3 separate regions of the Homo sapiens genome follow, and regions 1 and 2 are each linked to region 3. Evidence: promoter capture Hi-C in 16 types of primary human blood cells and fetal thymus (Javierre and others, 2016). All regions are on one chromosome and are shown on one strand. Each heading gives the region's core, a stretch centred on a gene start or on the middle of the fragment in contact. The rest is flanking DNA. Distances are from core to core; before and after follow the strand shown.

Region 1 (3,763 bases), core at 586-3,085, 670 kb after region 3:
CTTTCACCACATTAAGTAAGTATAACAGTCATGATGCCAAGAAATAAGTGAGAAAGCTGCAGCTAAAAAATGTAGGCTAAGCACATAATCTAAAAAGTAAATCTGGAAAAAAGTTCAGTCTAAATAAGTCAATCATAAACAAACATCAAATGCCTTATTTTATATAGTATTAGATCCAGATACTAAGTAAAAATAACCTAAAGCTTGTTTATTTTTTTTTTTTTTGAGACGGAGTCTCACTCTGTTGCCCAGGCTGGAGTGCAGTGGCACGATCTCGGCTCACTGCAAGCTCCGCCTCCCGGGTTCACGCCATTCTCCTGCCTCAGCCTCCCGAGTAGCTGGGACTACAGGCGCCCGCCACCACGCCCGGCTAATTTTTTGTATTTTTAGTAGAGGCAGGGTTTCACTGTGTTAGCCAGGATGGTCTCGATCTCCTGACCTCGTGATCCGCCCGCCTCTGCCTCCCAAAGTGCTGGGATTACAGGCGTGAGCCACCGCGCCCAGCAAGCTTGTTTATTTTTAAAAATATATTTGCCTACAATTTGGCAATGAGAGATATGTGAAAAAATGTTCCTGTCAACAGATATCAAGACAACATTTATAGTTCTGTGAAGAAAATAATCCTATGCCAAGACTGATATCACAAACTATGCACAAGCTAATATATCTGGCTCCTGCCACAACTCTTTTGGTTGTATAAGAAAAGTTAAGGGGATAATGATGCTGAAATCCTTTATCATTTCACTGAACATTCTTTCAACTGATAAAGACTCAAGAAGGCCTTATTACTGATATAAATAGAATAGGTACCTGGTTTGCGGTTTCAACGATCGGTGTGGGAAAAGAAAGCTTATAAGGGCCCACTAAATACCTGGCTCATTAGAAGAAAGCAAAGTTGTGATTCATGACAAAGGTCAGGCATTAATAAAGATGTGATTTTCCTTAGTATAGTCCACAGAAGGGATACACAAGTTTAGAAAAGATGCTTTTAGAAAGTACCTTATTGTATTATAACTTACCCCATGTGGTTGGGGAAACACAATGATTGCTTTATATGGTGCTTTAAAATTGATTATGGATGATTTATATTTCTACTAGCCTCTATTTTTTAAGTGTGCTAAACTAATATATTGCTATTTTAATAACTAAAAGCAAAAAAGTATTAAAGCAAATTGTCCCAGTTCTATGCTCAAATCTTTGCTTGTTTAGATATAATCTCCAATCGATAGTATTTGGTTACATTTGATAAAGTACATCGATATGTAAACATGTTACTTTTCACCTTAAAATCCAAGTAATAACTAGACAATTTTGGCATTAAGTATTAGCTACTGGAAGGTGCAGTATGAGCCTACGAAGCTATAGGTACAAAAAGCCTGACCTAGTCCACGTCCTCATTTAGAGAAAAGGACCACAAGTTAAGGGATTTGTCTGAGTTGAGACTAGGATTCTCAGTCCAGAACTGCATTCATGACAGCATAAATTCGTTAGAATCAGAGGAAGTCCTCAGACGTACCTCTTGAGAAAGCTGGCTGGCCTTGTTTGCGAGGAGAGGCTTGCTTCTTTCTCCCTGATCCCCCTGTGTCCCCGCGGAACTTCAGCTAGACTAACTTCAGCTGCCCCATCCCAGGTGAAGGAGGAGGAATTGGCTTAGTTTAAGAGCAAACTTAGTCTGCTGAAGTCATCCGTTCCTGTCAAGCTTCTCGCTGCTCTGCTCTGTACCTCACAGTAAGTAGGATAACTAGGGTTGTCCTCTTACAACAGCGAGAGTCTAATTCTTGTATCTATCACTTGCTCAATTCATTAGAATGGTCTAAGTGCAAAATCACAATCTAGACTTTTCCCTCGCTTTCACATCTGCCACATGACATATCCTGAGATCTTCAATTTATAATCCCTCGGTAAGACAAAAAAATCTGAATTTGAATATATTTCTAGCCTTATTACTTTACAGATATTACAAAAGACAATACAAGCTTTTTAGAGCAGGCTGATGCTACTTAAAGGTACTGTCCTAAAACAGACTCAGATTAGTGTAATGGATGTTGCTAGGGGATAGGAGCTGGGGAAAAGGGGAGATGTTTGGTCAAAGAGTGCAAACTTTCAGATAAGATGAGTATGTTCTGGGGATCTAATGTGTAGCATGGTGAATATGGTTAATATGGTCTAATGTGTAGCATGGTGAATATGGTTAATATGGTTAATAACACTGCACAGTCTACTTGAAAGAGAGTAGTTCTTAAGTGTTCTCACCACAAAAAAAAAAGGTTGACTCTTAGGTGACAGATGTGTTAACTAATTTGACTGTGGTAATCATTTCATCACATATACATATGTCAAGTAATCTCACTGTATATCTCAAATATATACAATTTTATTTGTCATTTTAGCTCAAAACTAGGGGAAAATAAAAAAATAAAATGGACTCAAATCTTGCTTATAAAAACTGAAAAAAATTGTTCTTCAGTGTGTTTGTAAGCAGATTTGGTAACTAAAGAAGGTTTCTAAATTATGCTTCAGTGTAAAATAAGCAGCTAAAATTAAGAAAGTCCCTTTGAAATCACTGAAAATAGCAGAGTCATTTGCCATATCCAAGTAGAACTGGAATGTAAAAAACAATTTCTGTCATATAAGCAAAAATGCATCAATGTACAAAAATGATTTTCTTTGTATCTGCCTTACAGAAGCAAGTGATTTCACTAGACACTTTAACTTTTTTTGAAAGTTAATTCAGAACTTGAATATTGTATTTGCCAAAATGATCTTGTAATAGTTCCATCAACTTCCCTCAAAAGCAGTACTGGTGCCAAAAAAGTTTATTTAATTGTTTTTAAAAAGGTACAAAGGGAGAAAATAAGGATTGTAGTGTGAAAAAAATAAAGTACAAGTCTAGCCACATTTTGAAAACATGGAAAAATATAAGATATGAAGGGTTTCTAAGAGATTCTAAGCTTCATGTGTTCATTTTAATAAATAATACCTTTCTCTATATGCCCAGGAGCAGGAAAGCTTTGGCATGCTTCTCAATTTGTAATCATTAATTCTAACCAAATTATAACAAGAAGTTTAAATTATTTCAACTAATAGATTCATAATTCAAATGGATTATGTACAATATATGTAAAAAAAAGAAAGCTCAGAAAAGTCCTCTGAAGGAATGAGCAGAAGATGATAGACGATTCTTGCATGTCTAACCAAAGGACCACTTAAAGAGACAGATCATCACCACAACACAGTCACAGTTCCTGTGCCATCCTGTGTGTAATCTAAGAGCACAAATTTCCAAGAGCTTGTCTCACTTGTATTTTCCTCCTAACTAAATATAAGAGGTTGTTAGACTCTGGATAATCCACAGGTAGCTGAAATTTATTTAAACAGAGTATAACATTTTCTTTCTCTCTCCATCATCACACAAACTACCACCTCCTCAAGTTTTCCTGGGGTCACCATGCTGGAGGTATTTGTATGTCCTATCAGTGATGCCTATGTCAAAACTATTTTTCTTTTAGAAAGCCTCTTGGATCCATCCCTGCTTAAACTATCCTCTGTCTACTCTTCCTTCTATAAAACAATTTTAACTACCATCAAATGAGTGTCAATACGTTATTTCTCTCATATCAGTTGTAATGTTTCATGCCATTCCATGCTGCTGAAATATCCTTACATCTTTATCTTTATAGCTCTTATATCTTACCTCTTCAAATCCAAAAGCTGATTCAGCTTTCTTAACTAACTCCTATCTGATTAGTCAGGTCATCAAACT
Region 2 (3,615 bases), core at 201-2,700, 680 kb after region 3:
TGCAGTGGTTGGTAAAATTATTTAATACTTTAAAAAAATAAATTGTTTTAAATTATTTACTTCCTATCTTGTCCGAGAAAAGATTTAAGGCCCATTACAAGGAAAGGTAAATTGTAACATGATAGTAAATGCATATCAGGAATAAAAGAAAGAAAAAAGCCAGAGATATGGAAAAAGTGCAACCATGAATAAAGCTTAGAAGGTAAGCTGGGTGTGGCAGCATGTGCCTGGGGTCCCAGCTACTCAGGAGGCTGAGGCAAGCGTATCACTTGAGCCCAGGAACTCAAGGCCAGCCTGGACAACACAGTGAGACCCCATCTTTTTTTTTTTTTAAGTACATACAGAAAAAGTCACAATTGATAAAAGGGCTCTACTTTCTGGCATCTAACAATAAAAGGGAAACTCAGCTATAATATTATTCATAATTCATATATGCATATTATTACTATTCACAAGTACAACAATTCTATGTCATGACATGAAGTAGGAATTTATGCTACTGTGCAGAGGAAGGAGAGGAAAAGGAGTAGTAATTATAAAGAGAATGCTTCAGAAAGCCTATGAAACAAGAGCACTAGCGGGCATTAATTTAGACTGCAGGCAGGAAAACAAAGTGCAAAGCAATAGAAGCAATTCTCTTTGTTAAAAAAAAAAAATCAAATATTTACCTCAACCAAAATAAAATTTTAACAAAGCTCCTAAACATGCTGTTTCATGCTATATCCTCCACAACACTATGAAAGGGACACTAAAATAAGTAAATGAAACATTTTGTTGAATAAGATTATTATTCATAATTCTACCAAAGACTGTTTGAATTTTAAAATACTGGCTATGTGGCCCCTTTTTCATGGTTGCAAAGGACCATGTGCCCCACTAGCTGCACCCAGAGACAACCATCTTGTTTCCTTCTTGCAGAAGCTGTTTCTACTTTGGAATTTCAGACCCCACTAAACTTTCTTAAAATTGGATGACAGATATACTGAGTTAACTATTTTCACTGCCAAGGAAGGACACTTACACAAACAAAAATAACCAAAAAAAAAAAAAGACTGAAAAGAGAGGAAGAAAATCTGAGTTTATTAAAAAGCATACAAGATTGTCCTTATTTATCTAATTTTTCCTAAGACTAGCAAAAGTTGTAATCAACTATTGTTTGGGACAGCAGTGGCTCTCCAACTTTTTTTATTTTGGCCAACTTAGCAAGGCCAAAACTCCAAAAGCTAACTTAAATCACTATTTTCCACTTTTTAGTAGAAAAGGATTTCCATGATGAAGACTGGAGAATAACAAAACCAATAAACTGCAGTAAGCATGCCACCAGCAACAAACAGGAACTTTACTATTTAATTTCTAAGAGAAAAATATGAACAGCTACATACGGTTCTGTATTACAACATAATGTCCCAGGAACTTTAATATACTCTGCCTTTATACTTATTTCAATAATTAAAAATTCATTGGTAGTACATCACCAAGTATATCCATGTACATGGGTCACTAGTTTAACAATGGGAGTAGAGATTATTTGTATTTGAGCCAAAAACAACATGTTTTAAAATGTAGTCTCCGGATAACAGGTACCAAAACTACTACACTATTAATATAACTATTAATCCTGCATATTCCCTCCAGTTTTGTCTCCTGGTTTTATTACAACATGGAAAGTAGATAAGCAGCCATTATCAGAAGGCAATGTTAAAGAAATTACGAGCAAATTACAAGCCTGGGATTTACAATGACTGGTAGGGTTACCCTGGGTTTGTAAAGTTTGGAGAGGTAAGCCTTCCAAGAGTTAAATGCTACCTGGGCCTTGACAACCACCTGGATTCATGCTTCGGGTCATGTGCGGAAACTTGCCCTTGCTACGGTTCAGCTTGTTTCACTAACTCCTCTAAGAGTATAGTCTAATTAAAACTTAAAAATAAACCTTAGATTTATACAGGATTTTGAGGAGTGAGGTGTAGCAATATGATAAATATATCCCTATAAGGTGAAAATATATGGATAGGTAAAAGGACAGAAACAGCACATCTTATATCCCCAATAAGTGTACTTTTGTATCTTCCAAATTACCTAAAACTGCAGCAACATGGATGGAGGTGGAGGCCATTATCTAAGTGAACTAACTCAAAAATAGAAAATCAAATATTGCGTGTTCTCACGTATAAGTGGGAGCTAACCAATGAATACACATGGACATAAAGACAGACATAACAGACACTGAGACTCCCAAGGAGGGAGTGGGGGAGGCGGCTGAGGTTATAAATTACCTAACTGGGTACAATGTTCAATATTTGGGTAATGAGTACACGAGAACCCCAATCCCCACCACCATTACGCAATATACTTATGTAACAAACATGTACATATATCCCATGAAGCTAGAATTTTTTTAATGTAAGCTATAAAAATGTTAGGTAACCATTTACTGATGTGATATTCAGAACATGAAAAAGAAAGTTAACCCAACAGAAAACAAAGCAAGATACACTATAACCCGCACTGTGCACTAACCTAGAAAAGGAAAAAAAGATGTTAACATCAACACATATTTAACTATCTACAAATTTGTTTATTATTACTAAATTAGAGAAGTAATACAGCAAAGTGGGTAAGAGACTGCCTAGACTCAAAGCAAAGGCGTACCACTGACTAGCTGTGTGATTTAGGACAAACTATTTAAACTCTCTATGCAAAAGTTCCTAAGCTTAGAAAATAAGGATAGTAACAGTTCACAACTCAAACAATTATACAAGTTACTATGTCTTACATTTCTAGAAGGGTGCCTAAAACATAGTAAACATATGTTAACTATTATTATTTGCTTTAAATTATTGTGAACACTATAGAGAAGAATTTTTAAGTCTGGTCGGCATAAGAACAAATTCTACGTTCTATTTTAAGAGGCCCTTGCTGTCTTGTATATAGTTTCATCAATAATGAAATATACTACTTATACTGAAAATTTATCACCAATTAATTTGAAACATCTACTAGGTTGATAATTGTTTAAAATCACCCACCTGCCAAGTATAATCCTTTATAATTTCTGTAGGCATTGGAATTACAAGGAGATTCTGAAGAATAAATGCCGCCTGAAAATGTAAAAAAAAAAAAAAAAAAAAAAAAAAAAAAAAAAAAAAAGGTCAATACTGCCATCTTGTGGTCATCTCTGAAATAACCAATATATTGTAATTAATAGCAAAAGACATCTCTGGTCAACTGCACATGCTGAGAGGTCATTATGAGAATTGTCAAACTGTATTTCTTGTTAGGTGATGACCTTCTTAGGTAATGACCTTGTTAGGTAATGACCTAACAGCATATGAAATTATTTCATCAGGAAATATATCTTTTCCTATTTCAGAATTCAGCTTTATTAAAAAATGATTTGTATAACATAAATTCTTCTGGTAGCATTTAAGAAATATAATTTTAGGTTTCTACTATCCCCTTTCAGATTACACACACACACACACACAAACACACGCACCCCTCTGCCCCGCTTTCTCCCTTCTCTTATACAGACTCCTTTCAATAAAAACTTGCTAACTAGAAATACAAACCACAAATGTCCAACTTGACTAGATCCTGAAGATGATCAAATTAAAT
Region 3 (3,439 bases), core at 793-3,292:
CATAAAAATTGCTGTATCACAAATTTAAAAATAAAAGATAAATGAGAATATTGAAGTCATGCTAGGGTGTTACAAAGACGTTGATAAACATGAATGTAGGCACAGTGATCACATACATAATCATTAAAAGCTACGATTATTGATCACACCTGTTACTTATGTAAGCACTAAGATTGTTGCTGAGACAAAACTAATCCCTGACTTCAAAGAACTGATAATTGACTTGTGAAACAGATGATTATATAAATAGGAGAAGGAGTCAGTGGTCATAGAAATCACTGTAGACCTCAAATCAATCTTGAAACGTGTGGCTCTGCAACTGAATGTCTGTGAGCCTCAATTTCCTCTAGTAACTGGCAACCACATTTAACATATGTGGTTGCAAAGAGGGCTGAATGAAATCACTTATTTAAAGCATTTACAAACCTAAAGCAGTCTTTACATTTCTAAAAAAAATGGCCATGCAGCGTATGAAATAGTAAGAAGTGGGTGGAATAGACAAGCTGTGCCAGGTATTTAGAGGAAAGAATTACAAGGAGTTATCAGAGAGTTTATGCAAATTTTCTGAGAAGGTCAGAGCTTGAGCCCATTCCAGGGAGTTTATGCAAATTTTCTGGGAAGGTCAGAGTTTGGGCCCATTCCAGAGTGACAGCGGAAAGGATTTTACCATGTTATCCTTAGTATCTGATCTGCCCCAGCATCTGGTACTTTGCACGGTGGAAGGTTTTTTTATTTAAAAAAAAAAAAAGGCTAGCCCACATTAATGAATGAATAGGAATAGTGTGCTGTTAAAGCAAGTAAGAATTTCCATTGGTTTACACGGGCTCTAGATGGAGATTTCTGCAAAGGATGAGACAAAAATCTCCCTTGGATGCTCATCTGGTTGGACTGAGCTACCTTGTCCTTCAAGTTTTTACATTCCCCCCACAACCTCATTCAAGTAAGTTTCCTTTCTTTCTATTATTGTGTTTCAAATGGGGTAGGAAATTTTAAATGAGAACCTGGAAAAATACTGCTCACCGTAATAAACAAACATCATCTTTTGAACTTTTACTAAATATAACTCTTGCAGGAGTCACCTTAAAAATTGTCAATCTTTATACATTTTACTAATTAGAAACATCCTTAGAAGTAAGTACTAAATGTTCTAGCCTATAGTAAAAATCCATATGTTGCCTCCGGCCAAAACTCAACATCGCTCTTTTTCCTCGAATCTTTCACAAAAACATAATCCTAAAAATTAAAACATCTTTACAATAATGAAAAACCTACTTTTAAAATGCCATGTGTTTCTACATTAAGGGGAGAAAGTTTTTCATTTTTTGTTTGTACAAGTTGAGCATTTCAGGAAGTCATTGGTATCCATTGATAACAACCACGTTCTCCATTTTCCCAGAAGAGCCAGGAGCCACTTTCAGTCCTAGTTAACGAAAACGCATGCATAAATCAACCACTCGGGTCGGTCGGTCTTCTCCACTCCTTCAGCAGAGGACGTCGGCGCCCGGCTGCCTCGCCCGCCTGCCTGTCTCTAGGCTGCGGGAGGATTAGACACATGCGCACGATTGGTCTCTTTGTGTGCACCAGGAAGGGTCTGGCGTCGATTTACACTTCCTAACGGGGCAGAGACCTGGAACGGCCGCGAGTGCTTGGGAATAAAAATGTACTGTAAACAAGGCCAATGAAATAAGTGTCTCGCTCCCGCTGGCCTTCCGCGTTGGAAGTGTCCCCACTGCCCTTTCCCCGCTGCACAGCTTGCGAGTGGAGATTTAGAGCCCGGGAATGAGGCGCCGTGTCCTTAGGAATCTCGCGCCCGGGGAGCGCTGAGGGACCGGGGAGCCGGGTGGGGAGCGGGCCTCGGGGCGCCCGGCGGCGGAGGCGCTCCCACCCGCGCGGAGAGGGATGGAGCGCGTCTTGCGAGCGTCTCCGAGCCCAGCCACCCCACGGGCCAGGGGGAGGGAGCGGGGCCGGCGCATCAGCCCGCCCCCCCCGGCCCGCCCCCTCCCCCCGCGCCGGGGAGCCGCGGTGGTGCGCTCCGGCCAGCTGTGCGCCGCCGAGCGAGGCGCCAGCCCGTGGGTGCTGCCGGGGGCGGCGGCGCGGTGGGGGCTCCCGCAGCTGGCGGAGGCGCGGGCCGCGGCGCTGGGCTCGCGGCGGGGAGCGAAGGTGAGCGCCAGAACGCGGAGGGCTGGCGCGGCTCGCGGCGCCGGGCCCCGTTCCCCGTCCGCGGCGGCCCTGCAGGCGACCCCGCGTCCCCACCGGCGGGAGCTCGGGGAAGAGCGGGCGGCGGCGCTGCTGCTGGCGGCGGCCGGCTGGATGCGAGACCCGCGCAGACCCGGCGGCGGACGGCGGCTCTCGACTCCGGAGAGCGGATCGCGGGGCGCAGGAGCCCGATCGCGCTGGCCATGGCCTCCAACTTTAACGACATAGTCAAGCAGGGCTACGTGAAAATCCGCAGCAGGAAGCTTGGGGTGAGTGGCTCGCTCGGCTTGCTCCTTCCCCGGCGCTCGTTCGGCCCGGCTGGCTGCCTGGGGGGGGGGCAGGGAGAGGTGACCCGTGCGGGTACAGGGCAGAGAGGGACCCGGCCCTTAGGCGGATGGCCCGCTTGTTGCTTGGCCAGGTGGGGGCCCACACCTGCCGGGGGGCTCCGCAGACGGACCTGGGGACTCCAGGAGCGCCTGAGTCCCCATCCTCGAGTGCACCGGGCTGTCTTCGACCGTGCGGGGAAGTCAGTAGACGAAAGGGGTTGTCAGTTCCAACGAGGAACGTGCCTTGGAGGAGGTTTCTTTGCGGTGCTATCCACGATGGTCTGTTCTCAAAAGTGTGCGCCTTTCGGGTGGAACTGCTGTGTGTGGCGACGCTCGCGTGTGTTTAGAATCACCATTTTCTGGTCTCCGCTTCCCAAGCTCAATTCGAAATTCCCGTCTGATGCCCTCCCAGCGCCGCGCGTCCCTGCCGGCTGTAGTTTAGGGCGCCTTCGCCGTGGCCGAGGGCGGCTCCCGCGCCCCGCAAGTGCTCCCCTACCCGGGGACCCGCGCCCGCGTGCAGGCAGGTGTGTGCCCCGCGCCCGCCCGCGGTCACTGCTCCGTGACGGCAAAGTTGATGGAGACCTTTCCCTATTCTTGAGAGATGCGCTGCCTGGCTTGGGAGGGAAACCGTGTAGAACCCAAGGGTTCAAAACTATTCTAGTGACCAGACGAGGCGGTAGGAGGGACTCACGGGAGGCAGCGGGACAGGAGGGGCTGTCACCTGGGCGGGAGCAGCCTAGACTTGGGACGCGAGAGAGAGGATGGAGGGATGGGCAGGAGGTCCCTGGGGAGCGCGCGATGTAGGGTGGCCTGGGAGGCTGACCCCGGCTGGCTGGTCCAGAAAAGCGAGGGGAAACTCGTCTGGGAAAGAAAGGGCCCCTGTTCCAGACTCTGGTTGTGTCTACCTCACTGTTCTC

Evidence for each region. The method cuts DNA at HindIII sites, captures the fragments that hold promoters and counts their contacts. A CHiCAGO score of 5 or more calls a contact.
Region 1: a fragment that was not itself captured here is called in contact with the fragment with the promoter of DOK6 in region 3 in 1 of 17 cell types (non-activated CD4 T cells); the score reaches 5.1 in non-activated CD4 T cells.
Region 2: a contact is called between a fragment that was not itself captured here and the fragment with the promoter of DOK6 in region 3, in 1 of 17 cell types (total CD4 T cells). The highest score is 5.6, in total CD4 T cells.

Annotation. Positions count from the first base shown.
Region 1 is chr18:70,066,953-70,070,715 of GRCh38, forward strand. All of the region lies in intron 34 of RTTN (rotatin), which reads right to left. Among named protein-coding and RNA genes, the nearest start is that of CD226, 120 kb to the left of the region's middle. The HindIII fragment of the contact is 277 bases long and covers 1,698-1,974 here.
Region 2 is chr18:70,083,587-70,087,201 of GRCh38, forward strand. RTTN (rotatin) reads right to left here. Exons shown (of 49, transcript NM_173630.4): 32 at 3,027-3,098. Among named protein-coding and RNA genes, the nearest start is that of RTTN, 120 kb to the right of the region's middle. The HindIII fragment of the contact is 2,516 bases long and covers 193-2,708 here.
Region 3 is chr18:69,398,846-69,402,284 of GRCh38, forward strand. DOK6 (docking protein 6) reads left to right here and starts at 2,043. Exons shown (of 8, transcript NM_152721.6): 1 at 2,043-2,465. The coding sequence starts at 2,400. The HindIII fragment of the contact is 5,350 bases long and covers 1-2,457 here.